Linked DNA regions of Homo sapiens: all the other regions are linked to region 5. Evidence: promoter capture Hi-C in 16 types of primary human blood cells and fetal thymus (Javierre and others, 2016). All regions are on one chromosome and are shown on one strand. Each heading gives the region's core, a stretch centred on a gene start or on the middle of the fragment in contact. The rest is flanking DNA. Distances are from core to core; before and after follow the strand shown.

Region 1 (2,700 bases), core at 22-2,521, 650 kb before region 5:
ATGCTTTCTTCCCTCCAACTTGGATCCCATGACCCTCATCTCAACTCCTCCATTGTTATCCATCTCTTTCAGATAGAATCCCAACCCTCAATCTCTTGAACTGTTCCCATTTTCTGCTTGTACGCACACAACTTCTCTGGTTCCACTACCAAAACGCAAAACAGTTTTGCTTTGGAAAATAATCACCAAATCGTGTGCATTGGTGCCAATACACAGGCATGCAATCATGATTTCTAGACTCAACTAGGTCTCGCACATAACACATCCATGTCAAGATCTCTCTCATTGACCTGACAGCCATTCCTAGCCTTTCTCCTGCTCTACACAGTGCTGCCCTAAATCCACTCTTTTTTTCTCAGGAGATAACCATGTCCACCTCACAGAGACACTAGAGGACATGTGGCCATGTGTCCTCAGTCTCCTGTTTCCCTCACTAAGACTTCTGTTTGCATTCACCCCATCGCTGTGTCATGCCCTCTCATTTCCATGGAGAAAGCATCCTTTCAACCGACTTTCTATTTGTTCCCCAGATTCCATCTATTTGTTGCCTTAGGAACCTTGCTCTATATTTCTTATCTATCCAGAGTTTTTAAAGTCAACATCTATTGAACACTTCCATATTCTGCACCAGACACTCAGACAAAAACTTGGAAAACATTATTTCATGTCAATTCTATAGTAACCCTGTGGAATGGGCACCACTTCCCTGGACTCATTCTCTCTGGCTCTGTCTCTGCTTTTGCTCTTAAGTCACATAAACATTGCTCAACTCTTACTAGAAGCTTCCCTTGATCCTTTATTGACTTGTAACTCCAGACCCATCTCCTTGCTTCCCTCCACTGCCACGCTTCTTGAAAGAGTCACCTCAACATCCTCTCTCCTCTTCCTCACGGCCCACCCATTTCTCAAGCCTTTTCCACTGAGATTGCACTCTGTTTATAAAATGTGAGCCTCCTAATTGTGAAATCCAATGGATGCTTTTCAGTCTTTATTTCCCTTGATATTTGTCACTTATTACCGGCATTCAAGCCCTTCTGCCCTGAGACTTCCTCTCTACTGACTTCCATAAGAATATATATCTCTCATGTTATCACTTTGAAAACTTCTCCTCGACCTTTCCTTGAGAAACGGTTCCTACTCCATTCCTTAAATGTCTCTGTCCCCAGGTCTCTGTCCTCATCTTCTTCTCTGAGTGATGTCATTCATTCCCACGGTTCAACTATCACATACAAACCATATCTTAGGGCTTCACTGGGTAGCAACACTTAGATATTCCCAAACGAAAGCCTTCCTTGTCAATCTCCAATTTATTTCTCCTCCTAGGTATTCTAACTTGGTTCATTCAATCTTCTTATCACCATGTGACCAAGACCAAACTAGGTAGCTATCATTGACGCCTAAAATTTTCTACTTGATTACAAAGAATGACTCCTACAATTATCTGCCAGCATCACACATTATACAGTTTTGGAAGGTTGCATTCATTTTACATAATATTTAGTCTTTAGACCTTATACTTTTAGCATTTAACTTGAAATCACCTTTTTAATGAAAACTTTTGATAAAGCATTTCAAATATTACTTGTAGGAAGTTATGGCTTTAGTGTGGTCAACCTGAGAGAGGAACAGCTTATTTCATTAGGGGTAAATAGAGGAAAATGTCTTTTGTTCTCTGATTTTCATGGCAGGGGTTGGGTATTATCTGTGTTTCCTGTCAGCTGCCCATCTGCACTGAACTTCTAAGGCTCTGCTAAGCTTTAGCCTACTTAGGATGACTCATTTTCTCCTTAAAATAATATAGAGAGATTTTTCTCCCTGAAACAGCATAGATATATTTTTCTCTGCAAGTCTGTGGTTCGGCCTGCTTACTGTTTTCTGAATCTTTGCTAATACTTCCCTAGATATGACAATCAAAAAGGGCTAGGGAAAGGGAATGCTATGAGAGGCTTTACCATATTTACCTTCTAATTCTTTTGTTATCATCAGGCATGTCAATATCTGGGCCGAGTTGGTAATGAAGTAGTTCAGTACCAAAGAGATCATATTCCAAGTAGCAGCCAAGTTGAGCAAACTCCAAGAGCTCTTTCTTATCAAGAATAGTCCTAGAAACAATGCGACAGATGAACTGTTATTATGAAGAGCCCATTTTCCACATGTACATACTAGAAGTTTTAAGCACACAATGTACAAGAACAAGAACATAGTTGAAGTCGAGTAACAGACACTTCTGAAATGGCTCTTAATGATGTGAGTATAAAACAGTAAGTTCAATTTGTTACTAGAAATAACAGAACTTACTCATCTAAAAAGGAGTTTTCCCCTCTAAAGTACTTGGGTACTACAGACTTAGTTTAATGATGCTTCCATTATTCCAGAGCAAGTTTGGAATTCTCCCTCAGAACTGTGTTCAGAAGATGCCCCCACACTATTTTGAGAATCCTTAATGGGGTAAATTTTCATCCTCTAAAGACTGCTATGAACTGTGAAAACTATTAAAGGAAATCTGGCCTCAGGTCTGGTGAATTAGGTGAGTAATGCTAATCTGGGTAACACATGAGGCTTTGCCTTGTGGTAGCAGGGTGATTTTCTTGTGAAGATTGTAAAGTGGTTCTAAAATTAATTCTAAAGCCTTTAAAGAATATCATTCCCACATTTTCTTGAAGGCACAATACTCATACAGATATTTATGCTCTGGAGTGC
Region 2 (2,848 bases), core at 339-2,838, 980 kb before region 5:
CGAGGATGGAAGCTGCAGTGAGGAATGTGGAGCCTCCCTCCCTTCCCCCGAGGCTGGCCCCCCACCCTTCCCACTCAATGAACTGTGGAGCATGGGTAAAGAACAGCCTCTACCAGGAGGCTGCTGGAGAACCAGGTTTTGCTAAGGCCACAAAGTGGAAAGGTGGGGGATGTATACCGAGAATGACTGACAGTGCAGTTAAAGTTCACAGGATACAGCAAAGTTAGACAAGGACCAAGAGCAGGAGACAGTGGGGAAGAGGGGTGGAAGCCCCGAGCAGTTACAGGAGTTTTGCAAGCAGAGACGGGTGGGGTGTTTCAGTAGGTTCCTAAGAACTGCAGATATTAGAGACATTCCTGTGACAGGGAGGCTGCAAATACCCTGACTTTGGTACAACTTGTTTTTACCCAAGAACTGATGGGCATTCGACTGCATTTACTCCAGGCTTTTGAGAGGTGATGAGGGCTGCCCTAGTGTTACAAAGGGGAACCGGTACCTCATGACAGGCCCCGGCTGGCTTGGGGGATGTACAGTGGAACCAAAGGCTCTGATTAGATTTGCTAAGGGGTAGCAAGGGCTGGATCAGGGTGATGGTGGTTGTTAGTCCCATGGAGCTCAGGACAATGGCAAAAGCCCCAGGAGGAGAGATCCAGTGAGCTCTCAAACAGCCTAGATCCTCAGAGCAATGGCACAGGCCTCAGCTAGGAAGTTGCATAAAAGGCGAGGGATCTTATTTTCAGCAGGGAAATGTCTGTGGTTTCAGCAGAAGCTTTGCCTCCCTTCCTCCTGCCCCTCTGGGAAGGTGCAACTTGCATCAATTCCAAGGCCAACGTGAGTCTTCTTGCAGAGCACTTCCAACAGCAGAGCTGGTTTCCATGGCTAAATATTTACACCATGCTTTTATATGCAGTCTAATTTCTGTTATGGCCTGTTCTCTTCTAAGACTAAATCTAACATGATTTGGCTCCCATTTCATTTCAGGGTCACGGAAATTCAAGATTTCAGTTCTGTGGCAGAAATGCTTCGGCTGTGCCAGTGTTTTATTCTTCTATGAGTACTGCAATGGTCATTTTCAAATCTGGAGTTGTAAACAGAAACTCTAGAATGAGTTTCACCTATCAGATTGCAGGTGAGGCCAGGAACTTCATCTTTTATTCAAAAAAGCTGCCATCATTACCATTATTCGTAGAATAATTACAATTATTTCTAGAATTGACTCCTGTGAGTAAATTAGGATTTGTTAACAAAAACCACATCCCTCTCTTAACTAGAACCCAGCCCAATTTAGCAAATTACTACAGTTGGTTTCTAAAGAGATAAAGAGAATATAATACTATCCAGGATGGTTAGAATGCTAGCATTTTCTTCAAAGTATATGTAGTTGATTTTAAAAATATGCCAATTATCTTATTAATTATACACTTAACCACATTGAATATACATTTTTATTTACAAGAAATATATATGTTTATTTACAAAAGCTTTATCAAAATATAATTCTCATATCATACAATTTACCCATTTAAAGTTTATATTTCAGAGGTTTTTAGTATTTTCACAAAATTGAAAATCTTAGAAAATTATTTTGTAAAAATCAAAAAGCCTTGAAAGAGTTACCTGATTATTATAAGAAGTTTATTTTCACAGAACACTTTATTTAGTACTTATTTTGAATTGACTCAAATGAAAGCTTCCTTTGGTTAAAACAAACGAAAGTACTTTTGGTATTTTTTTACCAAAAAAAAAAAAAAGGTAAATAACGATTTGCCACAAATAACTCAACAATGGATTTAAAATCCTTGTGCAAAACTCTGTCTTGGAGGTAGCATCCTTGTCGAAAAGAGAGTCTGAATGCTACTTCCACCTCAACGTGATCAGAAAAGTTCAAAGGATGCTCGAGTATTCGTCTTTAAAGGAGAAGCCTCCTGTGTCATGCTTCCTGTAGGCGTGTTTGTGTGAACGAGCTGTTGCATTGCACCTGTGTGTGCTGCTTGAGCAATTCACTTCACTGCTCAGGGTCTCAATTATCTCAAAGGTAAACGAAGAAGCTGGATTACTTTTTTCTAAAGTTTATCAAATGCAATGATCTTTTTGAATGATTCCTGTGAAGTTGAAAGAGCACTAAATATTGGAATGCGTACATTAATTATGCCTATTTTTCCTCTAAGATTGCAACAGAGACTATCACAAGGCATTTGGCAACCTGAGAAGCCCTGGATGGCCAGATAACTACGACAATGACAAGGATTGCACCGTTACTCTCACAGCCCCCCAGAACCACACCATTTCCCTCTTTTTTCATTCACTTGGCATCGAGAACTCAGTTGAATGCAGAAACGATTTCTTGGAGGTGATATGCATTTGAATATCGTTTGAATGAATTATTTAAAAGATGGTGGATCACTTAAGATTTTACACCTTTTATCTAGTGCTGCTAATATTATATGATTCTTATTTGTTTCATTAATTTATTCATTACCCTTTCATTCCCTAAACATCTACAGAGCACCAGTCCAAACACCGGAAATTGGGAACCTTAGGGCCCGCAGGAGACTCCTAGTCTGGCAGGAAGGACAGATGGGGTATAGCCAATTACAGCACAATGTGGAAAGGACTAACTGAGTCCAGCATGGGTTGGGGTTCCTAACTCAGTCTGGGAACTAGAAGGCTCAAGAGGGCAATATGTAAGTTGAGACCTAAAAGGATCAGAGGGAAGTCTAAGGACAACATGCTGGTTCTGTAAAATGAAGCTCAATGATACTAAATAGCTCACCTAATTTTCCTGACAGCTACAGTAAGTTTGGGGCATCGTCAACATCCTCTAAAGACAAGTGTTTCCTTGAATAAA
Region 3 (2,700 bases), core at 88-2,587, 840 kb before region 5:
CATTTCACAGTATGGCTATAGCACATTATTCTGCTTATCACCTGGTAATGAAATTTCCGGTTGTTTACAATGTTTAGTTACTGCCGACACTGTCTATTACAATATGAGCATTTTATAGGCCTTCTGATCATTTTCCACTCAGTAAAGTGTGTTCCTAAAGAAGTGAAAAAGTAGGAACTTTCCAGAGTCGGCCACTTGTCTGTAATCATGCACTGCTATAATTAGTAGCCTAGCACATGATAATGAGAATTATGGAGACTTATGTGTAGAATCTTTGTCTATGTGGGAGAGTCCCTAAATGTAGCTTTTATTTTGTATCGGAGTCATTTGTGGTTAGCTTCCATGTGAGGATTCGCCGCAGAGAAGAGGTGATCTTTCAGCTGTTATTATGTCCCATCTCGATCCTTTCTGAGCAAATCAATTGCTTGGTTTTGGAGAAATCTAGTATAGTAATGATGGGCTATACCCAATCAGCCACTTTTTTTTAGTTTTACCTTGTTAGACCACAATCTTAGATATTTATGAGTGAATGAGAGAGCGTGGCTTTTGGAGTGCATTAATTTTAAAAAGCTCTCTGTGGTACTATTTTGAAATTAGGAAGGGAGGGAATGCTACTTTGATGACGTGAAAAATTTGCCCAGATCGCCTCGATTGCTTACTATGTGATAAATGGTGCCGCTAGCCACATGTTTCAGGATTTTGAATACTCAGGAAGAATTCTTAGAGTGTGATTATGGAAACAACCAATTTCCATAAGTGAAAATGAGCATGCTTATTAATGGGGCTGCAATTGTCTATTGCATTCAGTCACATTTATAACCAGCAAGGAGAATGAGTGTTTTGCATGATTTAATGTTTACACAATTGCAGTTGCATGGCAAAGCTTGCTGTACTAGAGGCTTTGGAAAGAAGCATATGTGGTCGTTTTGCAGGTAATAAAATGGAAAATCCAATTTGCAATTGCAGAATAAGCCTCTGAGTGATATACGATCTTCATAGCAGCATCGGTCAGAGGGTCACTGCTAATCACGGCGCTGCCTGGCTTCCCCAGTGGCCTGCGCCTTCCAACTGAGGAGTGAGCAAAGTGAATCTGTGTCTGGGAGCCAGCCAGCGTGTCTGTAGATGCACCACTTTCTAGCTTATTAGATCCTCTTTGTCACAGTGCTTAATCCTGCTGCCTGATCCTTGTTAGAACACCACCAGAGCGCCGCTCAGCCTTCTAATAAAGGGGATGGGTGAGGGCTCCTAACTCAACGCACTGAAGCGTGTGGCGTCAGAGCGATTGCAGGCTGACTGACAGCGGGGTGAGATGCTTCCTGCATGTTATTACTTAAAAGGGAACCTACCTCCGACAGCTGACAGACGAGCTCTGCCGAGGCAATGGTAACTTGTTGCTAGGCCAATATGAGTCGGGTGTCATCTTTTCACACAATATAATGGCCAGCTTTACTCTAATTATATTAACCCTCTTCTGAAATTGCTTCATCCCCAACTGGTGCAGAGTGAGGCAAGAGAACCCAGAGACAAATCGCTTGCTGGGAGGGTTGCAGCGCTACAGAAACAGGTATTGTGTTATCCACCGGTGACATTAAGTTGAAAAACAAAACAAGCATGCCCTATTACAGCAAGTCCCAGTTCTAACTCCAAAGAGACATTGCTCTGTTTCGCTCGCGCGGTTTCCATTTCTGTCATTTATAATAGTTTCCTCCTTTAAGGTTTGCCACGGACATTATACCTGGGTTTCATGGCTCTTTGTTAAAAAGAAAGACCAACATCATACAAGAAGCTTTTTTCTTTTCTTTTTTTTCCCCAGGGAACCCTAATCATTCTTTTCTATTAGGCTCTTAAGTTCATGTAGCTTTAGGAAGCACTTGGGGATTTAATTTAGTAGCATTGCTTGATACTGAAGTAAGTAAATGAGGGTGGGGAGGGTAACCCAGTCATCTGTACCCTCCTTGCCACTCCCCATCCCAGCTAAAATATGCAGATGGGTTGGAAGTGATATAAGTGAAGATGATCGTGAATAGCCTGTGGTCCTTTCTGTTAACTCTGACTTGTAGACATCAGCGTGTGACTCCTTTTCCCTTAAGGGAGTATGTCTAGCTTGCATCCAGCGTCTCCTGTGTGCTCCAGTTAGCAGCCATCATTAGCAATCTGTGATGCCTCTGCCGTCTCCACTGACAGCACCTAAATAGAGACATCACTTGGGATTGACAGATCTCCAGGGGGTTACAGGCTTCAGACAAAAGGGCCCAGAGAACATGGCTGACCTTTCTTGGCATTATTCTCCTTCCATGAGTGGCAGTCAGGGAGCATAGAACTTTAGTACATTATTTTCAGAGGATTACCACTGAAAAGACTGCACACTTAGTAAGATGCTGTTAATAAGTTAACAAGAGGCTGTGTGCGTTCCAGAGTGGTTTTGCAGGCCGTCAGTAGTAGAACACGAGTGCTTCTTTCCCGCAGAAATACGTCCCTATTCCTTAAGTTCAAGGAGGGGTCTTTAAAACCAGCTTTACTCATAACATACCTTCAGTTTCGGATGATCGAGCAAGGCTTGGGACTCGGCGGAAGGGAGCTTGTGATGCAGGCTAGAAAAGAGGAGTCTCTTCCCCTCATTATCCCAAGCAAGTCTTCCCAGGGAAAATTTGAAATAGCTGAGACTTGTGTGTGTCATCCTTCCCGGATCCTTTCCCTGCT
Region 4 (2,903 bases), core at 284-2,783, 610 kb before region 5:
GAAAAGATCAATGTTACTAGTGTAAATCCATCAGATGCTTATTGTAATGTCACAGGTAAAATAGTAACATATACATTTTGAATCCCCCAACCAAAACACACAGGCAGGCAACGAGTTATGAACTCAAGAGCTATTTCAAATTCTTTATTATCACAAAGTTGCTAATTGCCTGTCTTGCCTGAGACTTGATATTGTTCCTGCGCAATATTTCAGATCAAATTACATGCCTTTCTAGTGCTATGGTTCATTTTAATTCAATTCAAGCTGTTTGAGGTAGTCCATCGCCGACTGATTTTGACTTTGGTGGAAGTCTTGAAGCCCAGTGACAATTCTAGAAAAAGCTCCATGGCCTGAATAATTCGTATCACAGTTAAGCCAGACCAGGAACAAGATCTCATCTGAACACACTCATATGAGGGGTTAGCAGCGGAAATGGAGGCGGGGGTGTTGTGAAGGGAAGTTCTTAATCATAAATTAGGAAGTGTCAGTCATCATTTTTAAGTTAAAAAAAAAAGAATCAAGAACAATAAATTGTAAGTAAAGATAAACCATAAAAATAGAACCATAGAAAGAAACCTTTTTAAAGAACAGAACCATAAGAAGAATTTTTTTTGTTTTTTTTGAGATGGAGCCTTGCTCTGTCACCCAGGCTGGAGTGGAGTGGCACAATCTTGGCTCACTGCAACCTCCACCTTCCAGATTCAAGTGATTCTCCTGCCTCAGCCTCCCAAGTAGCTGGGATTACGGGCACCCGCCACCACACCCAGCTAAGTTTTGTATTTTTAGTAGACATGGGGTTTCACTCTGTTGGCCAGGCTGGTCTTGAACTCCTGACCTCAAGTGATCTGCCTGCCTCGATCTCCCAAAGTGCTGGGATTACAGGCGTGAGCCACCGCTCCCTCCCAAGAAACCCTTTTAATGGAGGGCGAAAAGCCTCAACAGGATGAAATAAAAAGTTACTATGGATTTGATAAATATGTATTAAGCAGTTAATAAGTGTAAGATGTTATTCGAGGCAGGTAAGGTCTATGGGAGATACAAAGATAGATAAGAGTCCTGTGGCCTCACTTGGAGGCTGGGAACCAACAATAATGCCTTTTGTTCATTGACTAAGCTTCTACTATGTGTTGCTTAAAGCACTTTACATCTCTTATCTCAAATTTTCACGAATGCATTGCTGGCTTGATATTCTATGAGGAAAGTAAGGCCAAGAAAAGTTAAGAAACTTGCCCCTGGACTGAAAGGCTGCAATTCCAACCTAAGTCTGCTTAGAGAATGCCAAATATTGACTATGAACAGCACTTCATACACAGTTCTGCTAAGATTAATTAGACTAGTTTAGCCGACAATAACAATAGATAGCAACCTTATTGTAAAATTACCATGTGCCAAGCCCAGCACTCGGTAATTTACATGACATTTCTATATTTTTCACATTCTCTCTGATGCAACATCTACAAATGCTCTTATTTAAATTAAAAAAAAAAACAAAAAAACAAACAAAAAAAACAGCCAGGCACGGTGGCTCATGCTATAACCCCAGCACCACTTTGGGAGGCTGAGGCAGGAGGACTGCTTGAGCCCAGGAGTTCGCAATCAGCTTGGGCAACAAAGTGAGACCTCATCTCTAGAAAAACAAATCCCAAAATTAGTCAGCCATGGTGACATGCACCTGTGGTCCCACCTACACAGGAGGCTGAGGCAGAAGGATCACTTGAGCCTGGACTCGAGGCTATGAGCCAAGTTCATGCTCTCAGAAACAAACAAACAAACAACAGAATGAACTCAGATTTCATCCAAGACTCCTGCCTCACCCACACCCACTCAGTTTCTAAATCCCGTAAATTCCACCACTTTAATAGCTCTTTGATTCCTTTTCCCCTTCATTCTCACAGTCACGATCTTAGTAGGAACCACCATCATCTCACAGATGGATTCCAGTAAAAGCTTCTCAGAAGTCTCTCTGGCTTTGCAATCCACCTTAGGAAGCCTATACAGCGCTCTTTCTAAATCGCAGACAAGAATGTGTCTCTCCCTGAGTCTTCTTCTAATCTTAAAAAACAAATCTGAACATAGAGCCTGATAGTACCCTATGAACCCACTCTGCACTCACCTGCCCTTTCCTGGACTTTTTATCTTCTCCCCTGTCGCAAGGTCTCTGAGCAGGTTTCTGCCTCTTTGCTCTCAGCTTGCAAATCCAGCCCACTCCCACTCTGCCTCCCTAACCCTTTCCCAGTCCTGGCCAACTTCTACTCGGCCTTCAGCACTCTTCCTAACTAGAAGATTGTCCTGTGGTTCCTCCTTGTTGCTCAAGCAATACAGGTAAGATGTCAATTCTAGGTACTCTCATAGCACCTCAATTTCACCTTAATAATGCACTTCTTCTGATTTTTGTTTTTTGGCTTTTTTTTTTAAGAGACAGGGTCTCACTCTGTCACCCAGGCTGGGGTACAGGGGTATGATCGTAGCTCATTGCAGCCTCAAACTCCTGGGCTCAAGAGATCCTCCCACCTCAGCCTCCTGAGTAGTTGGGACTACAAGTGCACGTTGCCACACCCAATTATTTTTTTTATTTTCTATAGAGAAAGGGGTCTCCCTGTGTTGCCCAGGCTGGTTTTGAACTCCTGGACTCAAGGGATCCTCCCACCTTGGCCCCCAAAGTAATGGGATTATAGGCATGAGCCATTGCACCTAGCTACCTTCTTCTGTTTTATGTCTTTTCCATCAGACTTTGAGCTCGTTGCGGTGAGTCACATCTTTGCCTCTCAGTCCTCAGTTCCCTGCAGTGCCTGGTACACAGTATGTATTTAGCGAACATCTAGATGCTTGCTTGTTTTAGTCCCGCTTTATCCACAAAGGGTTTGAGGAGACTCGCACAAAGGAATCATACAATAAAGTAAGAA
Region 5 (2,846 bases), core at 280-2,779:
TTTCAATTGTAATGACTGGAGAAAGTTTGGCATGCACACTCTGACATGAAGGATAGGTAAGATTTGATTTGCAAAAACAAGGCAAGGGATATTCTAAAGGGAATAAAGATCAAAAGGAATGCTATGGCTCTACTACAGGCACTTTGGGCAAGTCCCTGTAATTACAGTAAAGGGTACTGAAGAAATAAAATTAAATTAATTAAAATAAAATTAGAAATAACGTATAAATAGGAAAAAATAGCTAGTAATAAAGCATAAATTAACAAAACCTTATTTGCAATCTAAAAGATTTTAAATTAAGGGTTAATTTTAATTAGCCAAATGCAAGGGTATTCTACAATGAAACTGCATGTTTTTGAAATTAGAGAACATAACGTATTATACTAAAATACAACTGGCTAGAATTTATGGGTAAAAAAGTCAGAACTACTGTTGCATCAAATTCCCACAAAATGGCTTCTTGAGGTAAAAAAAATACCCACTGTTGCATAAATGCCTTCCATGTGCTAGGAAGTACACCAAATCCTTTGTATGTGTTACTTTTTCCATTTATTCCTTACAATATATGAAATGTATGCAATCTCCCTTTTAGAAAGAAAAAAGCCTAGGTAGATAGTAGGTAACTTGCTAGTAAGTGCAAAAGGTAGGAATATGGGCCAGTATGACCCACAGCTTGGCCTCTTAACTATTGCATTACTGCATCCCAAAGTAATATGGTTTCCAAGGAGTACAGAAACCTTACAGAACCAAAATAAAAGCATGTATTTTTTTTTAAATCAGATTTTGCCCTTTCGTTTTAAATTCAAAGCTCGGGCAATACAAGCCCTCTTTTTTTAAGCAGCACAAACATAAGTTTTCACATGAACTCAATTTAACTGCTAGTTAATGAGTAAAACCTAAACTTTAGTCCAGGTGTTGCCCACACACTCTGCAGTGTCAAAAACTGGAGATGAAAATGCTGTAACATTTACAAACAGGTTGCTCTGAATTTGTTTCCCTACAAATACCTTGTAATTCTGCGTTGCAGCTGGTGGAAGCATTTCTAATGCACATTATGCCACATTCTTTGCCATGTTTTTAGGTAATAGTTGGTCTGACTTTGATTTATTGAAGTACAGAGGCGGACAGCCTCCAGCTTATGAGAAGCGCCCTACAAAGGCACGGATGTTACCGCACTGTGACTCAACTATTGCCTTATAGTTCTAGTTTTGCAAAATTAATATTGAAAAATACAAGCAATGGGCATATGTTCTAATTCCTAGTGCCTGGGCCTCAGAGCCTCCAGCTTAGCCCAGAGCAGTGCGTAGAGGAAGAAGGTATTCCTGGAGTTTAGAAACACGCCGACGCCCCTTCCCAATACAAAAACTACCACCCCACCAAAGGGTCCCAGACAGTTCAGAAAGGTCAGAAGCTACTTCCACCGCTTTCCGTGCCTGTTTCCGCCTCCAATTTCACTTCCGGGGAGGGGACTTCCGGGCCCTCAGCCTTAAGGGGCGGGAGTTAAAGAGGAGTCGGAAGTGGCACCAGCACTTCCGGTACGGAAAACTCGCTGCTGCCCCAACCTGGCTTGACAGGCTTGGTCTCTGCAAGTGGCTCTCAGCCCCTTCTTCTTTCCTGCCTCACCTTCCAATTCGTTTGCCGCCGCCGTCCCGCAGCTGCTGTTTCCGGAGTTGCCCCTTCCCCATGTTCCGGGGCAGGAGTCCGCAAAGCGAAGATCCGCCCGCCGGTTCCTCATCATGTCCGAACTGACTAAAGAGCTGATGGAGCTGGTGTGGGGCACCAAGAGCAGCCCCGGTCTCTCGGACACCATTTTCTGCCGCTGGACGCAAGGTACCCTGGCGGGGCTCTCACACTTGCAGCCGCTGCTTCTTTTGCCCTGCGAGAGTCCGCCTGTGACGCCTCTCGCTCCAGCCCCTCGCGTGCCCCGCTCTCTGCCCCAGTCGCCGTGCTCAGCGCTGAAGCTGGACTTTCTAGACACGCCCTGCCTTGCCTTGGTGGGGAGAGTTTGAGTAGGAGAATGGTTACAGCTGCCACTAAATACCCGCAGCGCTCTTTCCATCCTCCGGGCTGCCCTTCGGCTGGGGAGGAGGAGAGGGTGGCCCCTTGCTGGGTTGCAGGGCGTGACACGGAAGATGCGCCCCGTGCCCCGGTGTCACTTTCTCAAGGGGTGCTGTGGCCTTCCGCATCTTTACCCCCTAACAGAGCTGTCTATTGGTGGTGGTTGGTCTATTTTTGGTGAGAAGGAGGGACGTCCAAGGGAAAGTCCAAGTGGCTAATTCCAAAAAGCAGTTTTTTGTTTGTATTGTCATTATGTGGTTAGGCGTGGTAGTCTGTGTATAAACACTGTTATTTGCTAAAAAGTGTACTCTTGGCCCAAAGTATCCCCGTTTTTTATATGGTTTATTATCTGTCACGGTTAAAAAAGGAATATGGATCATAGTACTTCCTCGGCCGGTATGCTTGTAACCCAGACAGGACTTTTACTTACATGAAGAGTCTTAGTACAAATAATAATGAAATAAAATAAGCATTTATTGAATTCTTGCACTGTAACAGGCTGGGCGCTTTATACTAGTAACTATCCCTAATTCTTAAGTTTGGATAGGCAAACAACTGACACATTCCTAAAGGTGACTTAGGAAAGATGATGATGAGGTTAAAACATAACCTTGAGTCAGAAGGATCAATAATTTATGTATGTAAAACACTATTATTATTAAAACATCTATTTAGGGAACACCTGTTCCCGAAATAGATTGGGCGGAATTTTGGCATAGTAAATATAAACCCCTATTTCAAAACGTGTATTTTGTAACAAAAATTCAGGATTTACGTAATCTCTCCCT
Region 6 (2,700 bases), core at 155-2,654, 670 kb before region 5:
TGAGAAAGTCATGTTCTCTTCCAGTGACCACAGTGCAATTTCTGCTTCCACCACACACATGGTGTGAGACATTTAGAAACCACAATAGTTAAACAAATCTAATCATGTATTTAAACTATTAGAACCAGTTCCAAATGTCAGCGGGTCTGCAAGCAACCCTTCGCATCACATATAAGGTCTGACATCCAAGGCCCTAATACATTTTAAACTCCAACTCTTGTGCAAGTTATCTCTCTGTTCTTATCTTTACTTCTTTTGTAAAGAATTGACACTAAGCTGGCTCTTAATCTAACCTCTCTGGCAGAGTTGAAAGAGTGTCCAGTCCTTTAGGGAAAGTGGGTCATAGAAATGCCTAATTTTCAGTCCAGGCTTGTTCACTACATCTAGGTTTCTTAAGTTTATAGAATATTTTGCAAGCTGGGCTATTTGTTCCCAATTCAGCCATTCAAATAAACAAACATGTATTTAGCCCTAGTAAATGTGTCCTTGGTGCCTGGGTGTGGGAGTGAGGGTGGGGTTGGAGACCAGAGATTAAGAGACTTTGTATTTCTCTCAGTAACAGGAAAAAGGATGAGGGTATATGGCAAAAGGAGAATGAGGTAAGTGTTTTCAGGAGGAGACATTCAACGTGCTTGGGAGCATAGGGAAGAAAGATCCAGTGGTTGGCAGCTTGGGGGCTCAGGGTGGAGAGATAGGGGAAGGAGGTGACTTTGCAGCAGGGTCTTGAAAAAGTGATAAGATCAGGAGGAGTGAGATCTGGGCGTGGTAGCTGACGTCTGTAATTGTGGCATTTTGGGAGGTGGAGGTGGGAGTATTGCTTGAGGCCGGGAGCTTGAGACCAGCCTGGGTAACATAGTGAGACCTCATCTCGACAAAAAAACAAAAAAAGAAAAAAAGAAAATGCCTGGTGAGGTGGCAAGTACCTGTGGTTCCAGCGACTTGGGAGGCTGAGATGGGAGGACTGCTTGAACCTGGATGCTGGAGGCTGCAGTGAGCCATGATCACGCCACTGCATTCCAGCCTGGACTGCAAAATGAGACACTGTCTTTAAAAAAAAAAAAAAAAGAGAGAGAGAGAGGGAGGAGGTGGGTTGAAAGAGTTAAGGGGAAGGCAAAATGAGAAATGACAAGGTGATTTAAGGTGTAAATACCCGATAACTGAACAATGGAGTAGAAGAGAGGGCCAGTTATGAAAATGAAACCTGGGAATTTAGAGAAGCTTTGCGCCCATGGTGCAGGGCCTGGCACCAGGGAGTTAGACTTTCTGACAATGTGGACAACAAGGAAGGATATCATTGTTTCTGAGCTGAGTGGGCACAGGCTGTGAGCAGTTGATACAGGAAGATGACCACTGATGCCCTGTGTGACACAGTTTGGAGATGGGAAAGGCTGGAGGAAGGGAAATAGACAGCAAAGTCCACTTCTTTTCTTGCATGTTTTAAATTAAATTGAATTAAACATTACACATTAATGAGAAGATAATAGAATGGATATACCCAGAGAATTCATTCTAACCAGTGCAGTCAAACATCAGATTAAAACATTGGATTAGGGCCTTCTGGCTCTTTCAGAATTTCTGAAGGAAAGCTTGATTGTGTAGTTTAGATTTAGTGCATGATGTTTTAAAAAAATGTTTTATTTTTGAGACAAAGAGGGTCTCAGTTTGTTGCCCAAGCTGGAGTGCAGTGACACCATCACAGCACCAAGCCTGGCTAATTTTTTATTTTATTTTTCATAGAGATGAAGTCTCCCTATGTTGCTCAGGCTGGTCTCAAACTCCTGGACTCAAGTAACCCTCCTGCCTTGGCCTCCCAAAGTGCCGGGATTACAACCATGAGCCACTGTGCTTGGCCCAGTGCATTTTTGCTGAGGACACTTCTCCTAAAATCCCTTTTAATTCGCTCCTAATTTCTTTTCTCTTTTGTGTTCAAGAACTTTTACAAAACTGCCACTGAGGCTGAATGCACCCTCATTCCCGGGGAACATGGGCAGAGGGCCAGTCGGTTGTCTGTTTCATGACAGAACAATGTTCCTATGTACTGGAGCTTTGGACAAAAAGAAACCATCATGGGTACTCAATGTCTGACCCTCATTATGTAGCCATTGAGACCCTCTGCCCACCTACAAAAACAAATTCTTAAGAGTAAATGTAAAAGAAATAATATACGTATGTATAATGGAAGGCATACACACAAATGTAAATACATAATGGATAATGGATATCCTATTGGATAATAGACATGTTCAGGTAATCCCTAAATTTAATCGATAGTTTTAACTTTTTTTCACCCATTGATAACAAAACAAAAACCAACCAGCCAAAGAAACAAATCTTACCTCTGTCCTTGTCCCTGCAAAGTTGCTGGCTTACTGGAATGGTTCAAACACCGCAGCAGCAGGCAACAAAAGGCTAAAACTCCCAGGATCATTAGCATCTTAGAAGTGGCTAGAAAGGGGAGAAACCTCTTAACTGCTGATATGTAATTAGAGGGGCCTGTGTGAAAACATAGATGCCTTTGTGGGTATTGGCAGGTGTAAGGATTTCTACTTGTATCTTGACTAATCCGGGACAAACGAAAACTCCAAATCTCCATTTAAGTAGGACCAGCTTTCACAGACTTTTTCCACTTTCCAGAGCCAGAGATTAAATTATCGATTAATGAATTAAAGCATGAATTGTTACAGCTACTTTCAGTGGGAA
Region 7 (2,883 bases), core at 338-2,837, 880 kb before region 5:
TAAACTGTGCCACTTTCGCATGAATAAGATTGACTTTGTCAATTGATCACTAACATTTTTCAGATTAGTTTTAAGCTAGATATAATTACAGACATATCTTAGTTTTTGTGCAGAATATCGTAATTTGCAGAAGAGTTTCATGCACTTAATCTCAGTTGTATAATGTAGGCAAGGAGAGCTCTCTGGCCTCTTTTTAAAGATGATGGGACCAAGGGAGATTGTGACTTGCCTAAGGCCACGTTATTGACATGGCTTATTATAGACAGAATCCAGTTTTTAGTTCAGATCTTCCTAATTCAAAAATAAGCATTCCTCCCAATGGTATACCCATCAATGTGTCAAAACTGAGCCAATAAAAAGGCCTAATTTATTATTAGGTGACAGATTGCTGTGGTTCCAAATATATGCCTTAATTTTATTTGAAAAAGAAAATGTTGGGAATAGAATATTTGTACCCAACTTTGAATTTTGACTTGGATTTTATTGCATGCTCCTACGTTTTAATTCTGCATTAATATTTCTTTTGCCATACTTCACAAAAAATCATACCATATCCTTTGATTCCCCTGGCCTTCACTGATAATCAAAAATGACTCCCGTCAAGTCTCCTACATGATATTTTTTAACAAGTTCCATTTTATATATTCTATTTCAGTGAAATCTTTAGCCCCAGAAAATGTTTTCAGCATGGATTTTTAAAATGCTAAGTGAATTGTATTTCTGCCTGGTGAGTTATTGCCTTAAAGGGGTTGGGAAGTTGCAACACATAAAGCGTTTCCGTTTTGTAGTATAAATTTCAGGAAGCCCAGTGTCAGGTTCAGCGTGATTGAACATGTGCATCAATCTGTGTTAACACCAGCTGGAAAAGCTTGCCACTGTGTGCAGTGGACTTCCTTTGATTTAATAGGATGCTAAATGTATTTTGCCCTGGGAGAAATGCCGGCAGTGCTAACGTTCCGGATTTAATTTTTTTTTTTTTTAAATTCCAGAGGCATGTCTCTAAATACAGTTGTTATCACCTCAATACATATATAATATCTTACATTTATGTAGCCTCTCCCTTTGAGGCATCTCCTATATATTATAGTGTTCCTATGTTAAAAGAAAAAAAAAGCAAGGTTATACTGAGTCAGACCCAAATGGTATTGCATGCGTGTGTGAGTGTGAGAGTTTCTTTCAGAGTGCAGTGGGAGTTTGAAAGGAGTGAAGTGGGTGACAGTTGTCCCTCATGTTGTCAACACCTGAAATCTAGGCCTTACCGTGACATCATGGATCAGTCTTTCATATTTATATTTAGACCTTTCCAGAATTCTTCACATTTTCAACTGAGTATTAATTCCCTAAGTTGACTACCCATTACACAAAAGCATCTAATTGTACCATTTATACTCCTGTGAAGTTTTGGGTGATAGCATTCTAATATTAGTAAATAAGCTTATGCTCATTTTTTCAACATACGTAGAGTGATTTTAACACGCCTAGTACTCTCTGTTGCCTTTTATATTTGCTGTTTTAAAAATATCGGCTCTTCTCCTTGGACAGCCCCTATTGAATCCATCTTAACCATACCAGAATCTGACTTCCAACCCCATATACATTATATTTCTGTAATCAGTTCAGTTTGGGGAGCACTGGTTAAATGAAACATACATAACCCTTACCTTCATGAAGAAAATCTTTGAAAGAAAGAAACAGCTGCACAAATAAACATTACAAAATGGCTGCTAGAATGTAAGCTTCCCCAAGACATTGGTTTAAGCCACCCTCATCTCTCACCTGGGTTGCTAGAGTAACCTTTCAACTGGTTTCCTGCTTCCTACCTTCCCTTTACAATCCATTCTTCACCCCGTAGTCAAGGTGATCTTAGAAAATTACAGAGTGGATTGTATGCCTTTGTCAATTAGAGCTCTTTAATGTTCCCTAGGAATATTTAAGGCCCATCTGGCACCCATGGTTTCCATGCTACTTATCACCCTCACTCACTCATGAGCCGCTGTCAATAACCTCCTCTCACTTTTTCATGATCTTTGCTCTCTCCTTGGAATTTTCACCTGAATATTTTTGCAGCTCATACCACACAATTCATACATTCTAAGTGTACAATTCAGTGTTTTTTAGTATGTTCAGAGTTGTACAACCATTACCACAACTTTAGAACATCGTTTGTTACCTCAAAATGAAATGCCATACCCTTTTCTTTCCCACTCCAATCCGTCCATCTCTCCTAGCCCTAAGGGTTTTATAGTTTGGCTCTTACATTTATATCTTTGATCCATTTTGAGTTAATTTTTGTATGTGATATGAGCTAAGGATTCAGTTTTATTCTTTTGCCTGTGGCTGTCCTGTTGTTCCAGCACCATGTGTAGAAAAGACTGTTCTCTTTTTATCAAATGGTCTTGGCACTCTTGTCAACAACCAATTGACAGCAGATATATAGTTTTATTTTTGTACTTTCAATGCTATTTCACTTATTTATATGTCTATCCTTATGCGAGTACCACACTATCTTTAGTACTGTTGCTTTGTAGTAAGTTTTTAAATTGGGGCATGTTAGTTTCAACTTTGTTATTCTTTTTCAAGATTGTTTTAGCTATTTTGAGGCCTGTGAGTTTCCAAATGAATTTTAGAATCAGCTTGTTAATTTATACAAAGAAGCCAACTTGTGTTTTGGTAGAAATTGCACCGAATTTGTAGATTATTTCAGGGATTATCATAATCTCAACAATATGAAGGCTTCAGTTCAGATCCATGAACATGGGATATTTTTTCCATTTATTTAGATCTTCGATTTCTTTCAGTAATGTTTTGTAGATTTCAGAGTTTTTGATACTTTTGCTAAATTTTTTCCTAAGCATTTTATTACTTTTGTTGCTATTATATATG

The links. The method cuts DNA at HindIII sites, captures the fragments that hold promoters and counts their contacts. A CHiCAGO score of 5 or more calls a contact.
Region 1: a contact is called between a fragment that was not itself captured here and the fragment with the promoter of MINDY3 in region 5, in 4 of 17 cell types (M0 macrophages, M2 macrophages, endothelial precursors and 1 more). The highest score is 7.8, in M0 macrophages.
Region 2: a fragment that was not itself captured here is called in contact with the fragment with the promoter of MINDY3 in region 5 in 4 of 17 cell types (total B cells, M1 macrophages, naive CD4 T cells and 1 more); the score reaches 9.2 in total B cells.
Region 3: a fragment that was not itself captured here is called in contact with the fragment with the promoter of MINDY3 in region 5 in 1 of 17 cell types (M2 macrophages); the score reaches 5.7 in M2 macrophages.
Region 4: a fragment that was not itself captured here is called in contact with the fragment with the promoter of MINDY3 in region 5 in 3 of 17 cell types (M1 macrophages, M2 macrophages and M0 macrophages); the score reaches 6.4 in M1 macrophages.
Region 6: a fragment that was not itself captured here is called in contact with the fragment with the promoter of MINDY3 in region 5 in 1 of 17 cell types (M1 macrophages); the score reaches 5.1 in M1 macrophages.
Region 7: a fragment that was not itself captured here is called in contact with the fragment with the promoter of MINDY3 in region 5 in 4 of 17 cell types (M0 macrophages, M2 macrophages, M1 macrophages and 1 more); the score reaches 8.3 in M0 macrophages.

Annotation. Positions count from the first base shown.
Region 1 is chr10:16,504,422-16,507,121 of GRCh38, reverse strand. PTER (phosphotriesterase related) reads right to left here. Exons shown (of 5, transcript NM_001261836.2): 4 at 1,962-2,102. Among named protein-coding and RNA genes, the nearest start is that of C1QL3, 16 kb to the left of the region's middle. The HindIII fragment of the contact is 973 bases long and covers 785-1,757 here.
Region 2 is chr10:16,834,516-16,837,363 of GRCh38, reverse strand. CUBN (cubilin) reads left to right here. Exons shown (of 67, transcript NM_001081.4): 63 at 982-1,129; 64 at 2,169-2,350. Among named protein-coding and RNA genes, the nearest start is that of RSU1, 19 kb to the right of the region's middle. The HindIII fragment of the contact is 209 bases long and covers 1,484-1,692 here.
Region 3 is chr10:16,698,130-16,700,829 of GRCh38, reverse strand. The region is part of intron 7 of RSU1 (Ras suppressor protein 1); the gene reads left to right. Among named protein-coding and RNA genes, the nearest start is that of RSU1, 120 kb to the left of the region's middle. The HindIII fragment of the contact is 903 bases long and covers 886-1,788 here.
Region 4 is chr10:16,468,487-16,471,389 of GRCh38, reverse strand. All of the region lies in intron 1 of PTER (phosphotriesterase related), which reads right to left. Among named protein-coding and RNA genes, the nearest start is that of PTER, 33 kb to the right of the region's middle. The HindIII fragment of the contact is 833 bases long and covers 1,117-1,949 here.
Region 5 is chr10:15,859,190-15,862,035 of GRCh38, reverse strand. It overlaps MINDY3 (MINDY lysine 48 deubiquitinase 3), which reads left to right and starts at 1,529. Exons shown (of 15, transcript NM_024948.4): 1 at 1,529-1,830. The coding sequence starts at 1,737. RefSeq lists an enhancer at 1,738-1,787. The HindIII fragment of the contact is 10,196 bases long and covers 1-2,846 here.
Region 6 is chr10:16,527,388-16,530,087 of GRCh38, reverse strand. No RefSeq gene overlaps it. Among named protein-coding and RNA genes, the nearest start is that of C1QL3, 6.9 kb to the right of the region's middle. The HindIII fragment of the contact is 368 bases long and covers 1,221-1,588 here.
Region 7 is chr10:16,740,708-16,743,590 of GRCh38, reverse strand. The region is part of intron 7 of RSU1 (Ras suppressor protein 1); the gene reads left to right. Among named protein-coding and RNA genes, the nearest start is that of RSU1, 75 kb to the left of the region's middle. The HindIII fragment of the contact is 302 bases long and covers 1,437-1,738 here.